Linked DNA regions of Homo sapiens: region 1 is linked to region 2. The links are contacts of gene promoters, found by promoter capture Hi-C in human tissues and cell types (Jung and others, 2019). All regions are on one chromosome and are shown on one strand. Each heading gives the region's core, a stretch centred on a gene start or on the middle of the fragment in contact. The rest is flanking DNA. Distances are from core to core; before and after follow the strand shown.

The links. The method cuts DNA at HindIII sites, captures the fragments that hold promoters and counts their contacts. A contact is called where the count stands out against the background at its distance.
Region 1: a fragment that was not itself captured here is called in contact with the fragment with the promoter of PLBD2 in region 2 in 1 of the 25 tissues and cell types used here (hippocampus).

What each region holds. Positions count from the first base shown.
Region 1 is chr12:113,948,709-113,955,309 of GRCh38, reverse strand. RBM19 (RNA binding motif protein 19) reads left to right here. Exons shown (of 24, transcript NM_016196.4): 7 at 99-179; 8 at 2,720-2,798; 9 at 5,156-5,227; 10 at 6,274-6,477. It also overlaps the pseudogene TRE-CTC16-1. Among named protein-coding and RNA genes, the nearest start is that of RBM19, 14 kb to the left of the region's middle. The HindIII fragment of the contact is 5,168 bases long and covers 717-5,884 here.
Region 2 is chr12:113,355,254-113,362,239 of GRCh38, reverse strand. PLBD2 (phospholipase B domain containing 2) reads right to left here and starts at 3,653. Exons shown (of 12, transcript NM_173542.4): 1 at 3,350-3,653. The coding sequence starts at 3,639. It overlaps LOC105369989 (a long non-coding RNA gene), which reads left to right and starts at 2,730. Exons shown (of 3, transcript XR_945346.3): 1 at 2,730-2,910. RefSeq lists an enhancer at 2,395-2,894 and silencers at 3,230-3,289, 3,340-3,839. The HindIII fragment of the contact is 12,918 bases long and covers 1-6,351 here.

The DNA.
Region 1 (6,601 bases), core at 2,051-4,550, 590 kb before region 2:
GGCACCTTCTCTGGCACTGAAATGTCCCAGTGTGCCACCTCCTGCAGCTGTACGAAGGGTTAGTGTGGCCACTTCTGTTTGTTTTTGTGATCACTCAGACAGAGAAACCAGCAAACCAGAAGGAACCCACCACCTGCCACACCGTGAAGCTGCGGGGAGCCCCGTTCAATGTCACAGAGGTATGTGCTAACTGAGGACAAGGGTCGGCAGCCTGCGGGAGCAGGAGACGAGGGTGGGGAGGCCAGGAGCCTTTGGTGCATGGGGGCATTAGAGTCGGTTGAGGACATGAGCTGGAAGGAATTGGGGGCCAAAAAGGCTGAGAAATAACATCTCCGGCATCGTCAGGGTCAGGAAACAGGCATGGCTACACCAAGACAAAGGAGGTTCTGGTTTCACTCACCAGTACCCACACCAGGGTGGGCACACACTCTGTTAAAGAAAAGGTTGTGGGGGCAGTCAGCCAGTTAATATTTAAGACTTCGTGATCAACACGGTCTCTGTTGTGACTACTCACCCTGCTCTTATAGCAAGGAAGCAGTCTCAGAAAGTAGGTAAAAATAAATAAAACTTTAGTTACAAAAACAGGCAGTGAGCCAGATTTGGCCTGTGGACTGTAGTTTGCTGCCTTTGGGTCTGTAACAGCAGAAGAACACTTAATTTTCGTTCTTCGTGAAAGTAGTAGTTCAATATAGAAAACTCAAAACCATGTAGCTAAATAAAAAATATTTAAAAATTGCCTGTAAGTAGGATGACTACTAAATTATCATCTACACTAAATTGAGAGTGAGAGGGGTGCTACCCCAATGGGGTGCCAGGCTGTGGATGTAATTACCGCAGGTCTAACGACTCCAAATACAGTGACAACTCATCCCAGGCAAACTAGGGCTGCCCTGGCCAACACACTTGTATCTACCCAGTGACGTCCACTGATACATTTTGGGTGTGTCTTCTTAGATGGTTTTTGTTTTGTTTTCCTTTGTTTTTAGTTTTTATTATTATTATTTTTGTGTGTGTGTGTGAGACAGGGTCTCACTGTGTTGCCCAGGCTGTAGTACAGTGCTGCCATCATAGCTCACTGAAGCCTCTTCTTGGACGTTTTTGTCTTTGTATGTCTAAGAAGCAATCATTTACTGGGAACTCTTTGGAAACCCCTTTTTCCTCCTCATCATGGTATGTTATAGACCTCTTTGAATATTGAATATACTCTGCTACAGCAGCATTTTTTATGCTCATGCTCTTCCTTACTCAGGGTAAACTTCTGTAGGTTTACTCAGTCCCCTAAATTGGGACGTGGGAGTTATATCCAATTTTTTGCTGTTATAAATAATAATTCAGTTCCTTGGGATTAGGGGTGAGCAGACTTCGTCTGTAAAGGCCAGATGGTAAATATGTCAGGCTTTGTAAGCCATTTAATCTCTGTCACATATTCGTTGTTTTCTCTTTTTTTGGTAATCCTTTAAAATGTAAAAACCATTTTTAGCTTGCAAGCCATTCAAAAGCAGACCATGGTGATATTTGGCCCGTGGGCCATAGTTTGCTGATCTTTGCTCCAGATAAATATTCTGTGTAGGCAAATGTGTGTACAATTCTAAGGCTTTGGCACATAATATCAGTTGCCCTCTGGGAGCATTGCTAGTTTATGCTCGCTGTAGCAGAGTCTACAAGTGCCCATTTTCCTGAACCCTGGGTATTATTAATGTTTCATCAATGTGATAGGTAAAATTGGCATCTCATGTTAATTTATATTTTAAATTACTTGTAAGATGGATCATACTCTCTCACATTTGTAGATCGTGTATATCTTGTTGTCATTGTTGTTTTGAGACAGAGTTTCGCTCTTATCTCCCAGGCTGGAGTACAATGGTGCAATCTCAGCTCACTGCAACCTCCGCCTCCCGGGTTCAAGTGATTCTCCTGCCTCAGCCTCTCGGGTAGCTGGGATTACAGGCACCTGTCACCATGTCCAGCTAATTTTTGTATTTTTAGTAGAGACAGCGTTTCACCATGTTGGCCAGGCTGGTCTCGAACTCCTGACCTCGGGTGATCACCCGCCTTGGACTCCCAAAGTGCTGGGATTACAGGCGTGAGCCACCGCACCTGGCCAATATATCTTCTCTTTTGGAAAGTGCCCGATCATGTCTTTTGCCCTTTTTTCTCTTGAAGTCTTTATCTGTTCTGGTACTCTATGTTTATAAATATCTGAATTACAACTTATCAAACTTCAGAGTAGCAAGCATGTAGGTTTTATTAAACTCACTGAGTTGCTTGTAATTTTGTCAGAATTCTTTCAGTATCAACCATTCAGAAAATCACATGCTTTAATTAACAAAACCAAAACCACTAGGTGGCTACTTGCAAAACTAATACACAAAAACCAAATACTCAAGCTTAATGAGAAGTGAAAAAAGCCAGGTTTAATCCCAAGTATATACAATTATCTAGGGGGGAAACAGTGCCTTGAAATGCGGATCGTGACATCGCTATTTTAACGCTGATAGTGACACTGCTATTTTATATTTATATTACTCATTTCTCCTCCAATTTTCTTTTTCACATTTTCTCCAAGGTAATTGGAGAAGCGATACGTATAAGGAAAGAGAAAAACTAAAGAATGAAACACTTTGTAATCCTTTCTGATTTAGAAATTTGCCCCATGTCTTTTCGTTGGGTTGTACTTTTATTATGTGGTTGGTAAGGGGAAAAAAACTTCTTCTCACAGAAAAATGTTATGGAATTCCTGGCACCCCTGAAACCAGTGGCCATTCGAATTGTGAGAAACGCTCATGGGAATAAAACAGGTAAGATCCAGGATGTTTCCAGGTGGGAAGGCGGGTAGACAGTGAAGATTGAAGGTTGGGGTACTTGAATAAGGAAGAAGTTTTAAGGGCACCCGTTTTTCTTCCTGTTTGTGGTCCTCAGTTGTGTGGATGTGGTCAGCCTGGGCAGGTTAAGGCTGCATCTCTTGCCCCAGCCTTTGGTGGCCTAGTGTATAGGGATGGAGTTCTCACCTGTGCTTTTCATCCTTCCCTTCCTCATCTTAGCCTTTGCCTATCTCAGTGGGCTCACCTATTACGCTGAAACAAATGCCAACAGGTCCTGGGGTTTGCTAGGCCAAGTCCACAGGCAGCTCTGCTGGTGGGCAGGGCTCTGAGTTGCTGAGCATGTGTGGTGTTGCCCCGTGCCACCCTCCCTGCAGGTTTATACTCTGGGCAACCAACCAGGCACCTCCCTTGGCTTCAGAGCCCTGGGTTCTGGTCATCCTGAGATGAGCAGTGTGGCTGGAAGGCAGAGTGTCTGAGCTCGGGGAGGTGGGCACCTGTCCGTGCCTACTTCTTGCTGGCCAGGACACTGGGAGATTCAGCAGCTGACTTGCTACTTCTCAAGAGAACCACACTGAGGCCCTGTAGCTGCGGGGAGGCTGGAGGCTGGAAGCCGCTGGATGTGTACTCTGTCTTTGGCAAGAAGACACTGGCCTGGGTAGAGCAGTTGAGATCTACCTAGGCTGACATCTGGGGAAGAAAGTGTGCTTGAGGGATGGTCTCCTCACTGTCATGTTTCTGCATTTCTTCCCCAACTCTCCTCTTATCACGGAAGTCCCACTTACCCAGCTGATCCATTCAGCCACCCATCCTTCTCCTTGCAGACTGATTACAGGGCAGGATGAGGTCAGGGTAAAGGGCTCTGCCTAAGTGCAGATCTCAGGTAGGAGCCCTATGACCTTGGACAAGGGACTTAGCCTCAGTTTGTTTGTGTGTGTGAGTGTGTGTGTGTTTGTGTGTGTGTGTGCAGTCAGGTAAACCTGTCTCACCAAGTTGCATGAATGGCTCTGTGTACAGCATTTAGAGCAGTGCTGAGCCCCTGTTGCACACTCCATGAAAGCTGCTGTTAATATTCATGATGGTGGTGGTGATGGTGCTGGTACCCTTGGTTTTATGGCACTTCACAGACCAGGGAGGGAGCAGGAAGAAACATATCTGAGTTGTCAGACCCAAGAGAAAACCATATTGGAGGCCCCAGAGTTGGAGAGAGCCGGCATCCAAGCATGAAATGTTGAAAAGCAGCTGAATGTCCCCTGCAGGAGAGCTGGGGAGGAGGCAGGCTGGGCCCCTTAAGCTTTAGGGGCCTCATTAAAGATTGTGTGTCTCAGCTACTCAGGAGGCTGAAGTAGGAGGATTACTTGAGCCTAGGAGTTCAAATCCAGCCTGGACAACATAGCAAGACCCAATCTCAAAAAGAAAAAGATTGTGGGCTTCAGTCTGGATGCAGGGGCCCCTGGGAGCTTAGAGCAGGGGAGGGCAGTGATCACATTTAGGATGGTCCCTGGCAGGTGAAGAATGGGTCCTGGAGCCAGGCGTTTGCCATCGTCTAAGGGAGGATCAGTGGTGATGGGGCCTAGGGTGTGGCCATGGAGAGGGGGAGGGAAAAGGACGGAAGATGTTTATGGGGATGGATGAGGTGCCTGGATATAGGAAAGGAGGGCATGGAGGAGTCACAGAAAGAATCTAAACAGCCTTGTGATTAAAGGCAGAAAACCCAAGGGCTTTGGACCAAGTATTAGACATTGCCAGCTATTAGCCGAGTGCCCCTCGGAGTATTTCTTTAATGCTCCAGAAAAGCAGGGGAATGGTCCTCACCCCTCACCTTGTTGCCTCACAGGTTTGAGGCCCAAAGAGGTCAGGAAGCAGAGCCTCTCATGCTAGAGGAAAGACTCCCCCATTTGCTTGTTTTTTTGTGCAAGTCAAGGCCTCAGGTGCCCAGGAGCAGAGTGGGTGTGGAGAAGGTGCTTCCAGCGCCTAGGTGGGTCCTCATGCTGTAGCCACAGGCCCTTCTCCAGAGAATGGCTTAGAGCAGGTGCCAGTCGGGGGATGGGGGTGAGGCTTGGAGGGAGACAGAAAGGCCTCCTGGGCTTCCAACTCCTGGCATTCAGCATCTTCATCCATGACACCGGGCTGGGGTCTGTACACTCCCTGCAGAGGGAAATTTGGCTGTGGGTGGGAGACAGAGAGAGGGAGACCCTTTGTATTTTGGAGATCTGACCAAGGTAGAGGTTTCTCCCTCACTTTCTGCTCCTAGCACAGTATGGGTGTTCCTCTGGGGACCACCACAAGTGTCTGCAAGGCCTGCAGATTTTACCTCTGTCATTGTCCTCTGTCAGGATACATCTTTGTGGATTTCAGCAATGAAGAGGAAGTGAAGCAAGCTCTGAAATGCAACCGGGAGTACATGGGTAAGGAAGCCCTGGCCATGTGCTCTCTCTGTGTTACAGCGTTCCTTCGTTCCTTCATTTCCTTTACACGTTCTTGTACCAGCACCATCACCACCACCAAGAATGCAGTGTCTCTGCAGACACTGTTCTAGGCACTGGGGACATGGCAGGGAGCAAACAGACCCAAATCCCTGCCCTTTCGGGGCTGACAGAGAGTAAACTGACTTAGGAGGGAGAGACAGGTGGTTAAATGTGTGATCCATGCTACAGGGAAACACACAGCAGGCACGGGTCCTGGGGAGGGCAGGGATTGGAGGAGGCTTGGCTTTAAACAGGGTCCTGTCTGCTTTGGCCTCACCGAGGGGTGACATTGGGACACAAACCTACAGTTGTGTAGGCTCTGGCTCTACGGACAGGATGTTCAGTAGAGGGAACAGCACGTGCAAATTCCCTGGAGTTGGGAGGTCTTCTGAACAATACCCAGGGATGTATTCTTTGACCAATCCCTGGCCAAGACAAGTGATTTGAATCCAGCCATCAACCCCAGTGAAGACATGAGTTGTGTTAGAGAAGGATGGAGAGCCTTGGGAATCTTGTTAGCAAGTCAGGAGGTGGGTATTTATTGAGCACCTAGTAGTGCCTGTGCAGGATACAGTGATAATAGCACCCTAATCAGGCACAGGGGCTATGCGTGCAAATAAATCATCAGCAGGTAAGTACCCAGGGCTGGGCTGTCACCTAAGACCCTTCCCAAGGCAGAACAGCAAGCAGTGCCAGAGAATACAGCCCGGAGTTTAGAGAATGCATCACCGTGGTCTGGGATAACTCAGGCAGGCTCCCTCCAGGGCTGAAGCTGAACTGGCAGGGTGAGTGAGATTTGGGTTCAGGCCTGGTGTTGGCTTGGCTTATGCTGCCGCCTCAGGTGACAGGGCAGGTGTTGGGTGCTGTCATCTGCCACCTTGATTGTGTTTTTTGGAAGGCAGCAGAGAAGAGTTTGGAGTCACCAGCAAGGAGTTGCTGGCAAGTTCTAGGCCTCCCCCTGGAGCCCTGACTCCTCTTCATTGCAGGTGGGCGCTACATCGAGGTGTTCAGGGAAAAGAACGTCCCCACCACCAAGGGTGCACCAAAGAATACCACCAAATCCTGGCAAGGCCGGATACTCGGGGAGAACGAAGAGGAGGAGGACCTGGCCGAATCCGGAAGGCTCTTTGTACGGAACCTGCCCTACACCAGCACCGAGGAGGATCTGGAGAAGCTCTTCTCCAAATATGGTAGGGGTGTGGCCTCCGGGCCGTGGATAGCCCAGCGGCTATGGGAGCCGGGCTCTCACTCTGACGTCCTGGGTTCAAGTCCCAGTGTGCACACGACTCCACATCTCTTGCCTCAGTTTTCTCA
Region 2 (6,986 bases), core at 2,404-4,903:
GTAGCTGGGACCACAGGCATGCGCAACCACACCCAGCTAATTTTTTACTTTTTTTTTGCAGAGACAGGGTTTCACCACATTGCCCAAGCTGGTCTCGAAATCCTGGCCCCTCGCCATCCTCCTGCCTCGGTCTCCCAAAACATTGGGATTACAGGCATGAGCTACAGCGCCTGTCCTCCTTTCTCATTCTTGATGGTATAGATTCATCTCCTGTGATTGTTCAAAGAAACAGCTGGGCCTTATTTATCCATTTTACTGGGCTGTTTTTGCCTGTTGGTTGGTGGATTTGGGATGCTTCCCCGTTTACTAAATTTGTTAATTCCCTCTAACTTTGATTCACTTCCTCTCTCAACGGGATGGTGATTTACTTTAAGCAACCTCGTCGATAAGGTGCTGGTCAGTGGGATCAGATCAGGGAAGGAAGACAAAGTAAGGTTGGAGGATACAGCTTCCCCAGGACCAAGGCCAGAGCTAGACTGAGGCAGGCTCTGCTCCTAGTGACATCTCTGATCTCCAAGCACCAAATCATAAATGTTTCCAGGCTGTGTGGGGGTGTTGGCCCAAAGTCAAGATATGGCACAACTGAAAGAAGGTACCGAGCACAGTGGCTCACATCTGTAATCCCAACATTTGGGGATGCTAAGGTGAGAGGATCACTTGAGCCCAGGAGTTCAAGACCAGCCTGGGCAACATGACAAGACCCCTGTTTCTACAAAAAAAAAGAATTTAAAAATTAGCCAGGCATGGGGGTGCGTATCTATAGTCCCAGCTACTTGGGAGGCCGAGGTCGGAGGATTTCTTGAGCCTGGGAGTTCAAGGCTGCAGTGAGCCATGATCATACCACTGCACTCGAGCCTGGATAACACAGGGAGACCCTGTCTCAAAAAAAAAAAAAAAACAAAAAAAAAAAAACCTTTTTTAAAAAATAAAAAAGACGAAGGATTATGGTGTAGGGAGAATTTATCCTGATAATCCCAGGATCCCCAGTGGCAAAATCTGGGGATTTCACCAGGAAGGAGGAGGATCCTAATTCTGAGTGAACAGAGGCATCAAATCCCTGCCCCCACCCTCCGAAATAAGACACAGAGTCCCCCACAGATCAGAGATTCTGCTGATCAGGAGCCAGGACACCCCCTATGGCTTTCTTTCATCTGACCCTGAGTCCTCAAGCAGCTGTCTCTGAGGACCTCAGTTTCCTGCCTATAAAATGGGGCTCGCTTTATGGTTTTCCCTGCATCAGAGCCTCAAGGGCTGGCAAACTCAAAGGGAAAGGGGCATGTGAGCGTAAGAGGAGGGGATGAGAGAGGGTGCCGAAAACAAGCCAGAAAGTCCAAGATGGGCAGATCACCTGAAGTCAGGAGTTTGAGACCAGCCTGGCCAACATGGTGAAACCCCATCTCTACTAATAATACAAAAATTAGCCGGGCATGGTGGCACACACCTGTAATTCCAGCTACTTGGGAGGCTGAGACACGAGAATCGCTTGAACCCAGGGTGGGGAGGTTGCAGTGAGCCAATATCGTGCCCCTGCACTCCAGCTGGGCAACGGAGTGAAACTGTGTCTCAAAAAATAAAATACAAATAAAAATAAATAAACAGTGCTTTCTGTGACCCCAGTGAATTTCCATGACCCTTTTGGTCCTACCTTGATATGAGGGAACATGCTCAGAGAGGTGAAGGGATTTGCCCAAGGTCACACAGCAGAGGGGCTGAGCCTGGAAGAACTTTCCATCCAGCACAATCAAGGAAGCCTTCTCTCCACTTCCATGTTTACCATAGTCAAGAGCAACACAGCCCAGGAGGGGCCTCCAGAGGCCAAAGCCCCCTCCCCATGCTGGGCCTCGCTCCTGCCCCTCCTCGCCTGAACAGTTCTGTCATGTCCTCTTGATTCTGCTATGCAGGGCCAAAAACATGAGTGAGTCAGCAAAGAACGGGTCACCAGATCCAAGAGTCCCGGCAGCCCCCGAGGCCAGCCACAAAGCTTCAGTTCCCTCCACAGATGCCAGCTCACTCTGTGGCCTCCTCTCTCTGGGAGCCTTCCCAGATTTACCCCAACCAGTGCCCCTGTGTCTGTGCAAATATCTCCCCCAAATCTCACGTCTACTTGATGTACCCCCCAAGTGCCACCAGAATGGGGGTGTCCTCGGCATCCTGTGTCTCCCTAACACCTGCAGAAGCCAATGGATGCCAGTAAAATGGATAGGGGCTAAAGTGGGAGGAGGCCCTTTCTGCTGCAGGGGGCAGTGTGGTCTGAGCACAGACCACATCCTGGGCACATCCTAGTGCTAGGGTTCCCTAGCATCATCTGGACACTAGGATATGACGGATGCACCCCGGGTTCCCTAGGATCCCCCAGCACAGCCTGATCCAGCGTCTGGGCCCTGCTGACAAGGCTTTGAAGCTGATCCTTCCCACTCCCACTGACTCTGATTTCTCTTCTATCGCTGTCTGTGTTTCCCACTGAGTAGAGACAGCTGCTCAGCTGTGTCCCTAAGGCCAACCATCAGGGTAATGAATAAATGAATGGGCACAAGCCCTTGTACAGAACTTGCAGCACATGACCACCCAACTAGAGCACATCCTCAAAATCTGGGCCACAGATGGGGAAACGGGAGCCCAGACAGGCGGAGGAGTTAGGTGAGACTCACACATCAGAATGACAGCCTGGGTTCCAGCAATAAAGATGGTGAGCATGGCTGCCAAACACGGCATCCAGCCAAGGACTTCCCCTTGGACCAGGACACAGAAGACAAGGGAGGAGCAGAGCCCTAGCAGGATACTAAATGGGTCTATGTGACTTTAGGGACCCTCTGCTTTTGGACTAGCCTGGAACCCAGGTTCAGTCCTGCTGACCTGGCACTGGAAGGGAGGCAGGGTGCTGGCACCCACGAGCAAGCCACAGCCAAGCAGGTAAGAATTAGTCTCCTGCTGAGTTCTCATCACCCCTCAGGCCTGGGGACAGGGGGCTGGCCTCCATGGGGTGAGGAGGCAAAGTCTAGGGAAGGGAGCAGGTCCCCGTGAGGATAGAATTTACCCACCAGCCATGGACCTGATCCAGATGCAGGCACTGCGGCCTCGGTGGTAGGGAACTGGCTTCTTGGGGACAGAAGTACTGTCACCACTGGCTGAAGGCAAGGGACTGGCCCCATGAGGTGAGGGATGCCGCAGTAGCCAGCTCCCAAACAGGGTACTTGGCCCGCAGGGCGGTGCTGCAGCCTCGGGAGTAGCTGACCCCCAGAGAAACGGGCGTTCCCACCCGGCAAGAGGCCGGTCCCGGGAACAGGCGAGGTCCGGCGCCCACGCATCCCCCTCCCCCGATGGCCCCGCGTGGGGATAAGCCAACCCTTACCCAGTCTCGCGGATGGCGTTGGTGAGGTTGGCCCAGGCCACGGCGTCAGGGTGGCGTCCGTCCACCATAAGCAGCTGGCCCGCCGAGACGTCCAGGAGCACCGAGCGGCTGCGGGAGGCTGGAGGGACCTGCCCATCGCGCGCCCAGCGGCCCCCCGGCGCTGGGATCGCCCCCGCCAGGCCGCTCAGGAACGGCCCGACCAGCAGGGCCAGCACCAGGGCCAGCGCCAGCGCCCGCGTCAGCGCCCGGGCCAGGTGGCTGCCGGGGTAGCAGTACATCTGGCCCACCATGACCGCACAATGCTGCGCCCCGCAGCCCGGGTCACGTGACTGCGCTCTGCCATGGGCGGGGCCGAGGGCGGGCGGGGCCGGGCTTGGGCTGAGCCTTTCCGGGATGGGAGGGGCTGGCGCGAGGGGAGGCCTACGGGGCGGGACCCACCTTAAAGAGCCCGGCCGCCCCTTCCACCTACGCAAACCCGGTTTAGCACACTTCCCCAAGTTTTTTTTTTTTTTTTTTTTTGAGACAAGACAAAACCTCCATATGTCGCCCAGACTGGAGTGCAGTGACGCGATCTCGGCTCATTGCCACCTCCGCCTCCCGGGTTCAAGCGATTCTCCTGCCTCATCCTCCTGAGTAGGTGGGATTACAGGCGCGCACCACCACGCCCAGCTGATTTATGTAATTTCAGTACAGACGGGGTTTCGCCATGTTGGCCAGGCTGGTCTTGAACTCCTGACCTCAGGTGATCCGCCTGCCTCAGCCTCCCAAAGTGCTGGGATTACAGGGGTGAGCCACCGCGCCCGGCCAGATTTATTTAATGGTATTTGCCATTTATTTAATACAGTTATCTAATGCAGTCTTTATTCCAACTTTTCCCATTGTCCCTCAAATACCCTTTTTACATGTGTGTGGGAAAAAGCTGTCTAACTACTACTCAAAACCTAGATGCCGTCGGGCGCGGTGGCTCACGCCTGTAATCCCAACACTCCAGGAGGCCAGGGCGGGCGAGTTCAGGAGTTCAAGACCAGCCTGGGCAACATGGTGAAACCCCCGTCTCTACTAAAAATACAAAAAAGTAGCCGGACGCAGTGAGGCGCGCCTATAGTCCCAGCTACTCGGGAGACTGAGGTAGGAAAATCACCTGAGCCCGGAAGGTCGAGGCTGCAGAGAGTCGAGATTGCACCACTGCACTCCAGCCTGAGCAACCAGAATGAGACCTTGTCTCAAAAGAAAAAAAAAAAAAAAAAAACCTAGATGCAATAAAAGATTAATGCATTTGACTGTATAAATTTTTTAACTTTTTCATGTCAAAAAACTCAATAAGCAAAGTCAAAAGACATCTGACAGACCAGGAGAAACTATTTGCAACATATATCATATATATACATTACATATATATATGTATATATATCTCAACATATATCATATAATATATCAGGAACTCTTAAAATTTGAGAGGGAAGGCCAGGTGAGTGGTTCATGCCTGTAATCACAGCACTTTGGGTGGCCAAGGTGGGAGGAATGCTTGAGCCCAGGAGTTTGAGACCAGCCTAGGAAACCTGGCAAGACTCTGTCTCTATAAAATATAAAAATTAGCTGAGCTTGGTGGTGCACACCTGTAGTCCTGTTGTGGGAAACTGAGGAACGGAGAGACCAATATGAGAGAACAGGAGGATGTTTATTTCAACGTACGCACTGGCTCAGTGGATTCACATCCAAAAAGCTGAGCCTAGAACAAAGATATTGTGGGGTTTTTATAAGCAAGCTTAGAAAGGTAAAACAAAAGTAGTTAATCATATAGTGCATAACTTGTGGCCTTGCATAGCTGGTGGCCTTGTAGCTGCATCAAAAGTAAAACAAGAACTGGCTAAATAGAGAGGTTTGTAAAACATAGTCATGCTTAAGAGACCAAGGAAAGGAATAGCAATAAAATAATTTGTCTTTCTCTCTTTTTTTTCCTTCAACCTTGCTCTGGAGGCGGGCGGTGGGGTGGAGGGCGGGGTCTGGAGCCCAGTCCTCTGGCCTTGGCTTTTCGGACAGCGTTATCTTATAACTGTCCTTGAAGTGAGCTGCTAAGCAGAGGAAAACTTGTTCTTCTTCTTTTTTAACCCTTGCCTTGCCACATTCTGGGCCTTAGCTCTTACTTCTCTTGGAGTGAATATATGTAGTACTTATTATTATTATTATTTTAATTTCTGCCTCAGTCCCAGCTACTGGGAGGCCGAGGGGGGAGGATTGCTTGAGCCTAGGAAGTCGAGGCTACAGTGAGTTGCACTACAGCCTGGGCAACAGAGCAAGAAGTTGTCAAAAAGGAAAGAGAGAGAGAGAGAGAGAAAGAGAGAGAAAAGGAAGGAAGGAAGGGAGGGAGGGAGGGAAAGGGAAGGAAGGGAAGGAAGAAAGGAAGGAAGGAAGGAAGGAAGGAAGGAAGGAAGGAAGAAAGAAAGAAAGAAAGAAAGAAAGAAAGAAAGAAAGAAAGAAAGAAAAGGTTTGAGAAGGAAAATGTGAAAACCAGACAGAAAACATGGGCAAAAAGCATCAGCAAATAATTCATGAACAAAGATGTAGAAGTGACCATTATATTTATGAAAAATGCTTGCTTCATTCACTATAGGAGAAATGCAAATTAAAGCTACACTGAAAATAAACATTCAGAGAAATATATGGTGAGAGAGCGTATACCCTGAATGGTACATTCAGGGTAACATGAAGCGATGCTCCTAAGTGCCCAACCTCAATCTTCGGGTGAAAACAAACTCTATACTTAACCATTCAAAAAAGAAGAGGCCAGGTGCAGTGGCTCATGTCTGTAATCCCAGCACTTTGGGAAGCCGAGGCAGGCAGATCACGTGAGGTCAGGGGTTCAAGACCAGCCTGACCAACATTGTGAAACCCCATCTCTACTAAAAATACAAAATAATTAGCCGGGTGGTGGCATGTGCCTGTGGTCCCAGCTGCTGGGGAGGCTGAGGCAGGAAATTCGCTTGAACCTGGGAGGTGGAGGTTGCAGTGAACCGAGATCATGCCACTGCATTCCAGCCTGGGCGACAGAGTGAGACTCTGTCCAGAAGAAGGAGAAGGAGAAGAAGTAAGAAATATACAGTGAAAATAGAGTGCATGTAAAGACTGCTGAAATAAGGTCTGTAATTTAGTTTTTTGATTTTTGTTTTCTTGGGTTTGAGACAGGGTCTCACTTTGTCGTCCAGGCTGGGATGCAGTGGTGCAATCATAGCTCACTGTAGCCTCAATCTTTCAGGCTCAAGTGATTCTCTCACCTAAGTCTCCTAGGTAGCTGGGCTACAGGCATGCACCACCACACCTGGTTAATTTTTTTGAGTTTTTGAAGAGATGGAGTCTTACTTTGTTGCTTGACTGGTCTCAAACTCCTGGGCTCAAGCGATCCTCCCACCATGGCCTCCCAAAGTGCTGGGATTTGTAATTTAAAGTACCATATCAGGCCGGGTTCGGGGGCTCATGCCTGTAATCCCTGCACTTTGGGAGGCCATGGTGGGAGGATCGCTTGAGCTCAGGAGTTCAAGAGCAGCCTGAGCAAGATGGTGAAACCCCATCTCTACTAAAAATCCAAAAAAAATTTATCTGGGCATGGTGGCACACGCCTGTAATCTCAGCTACTCGGGAG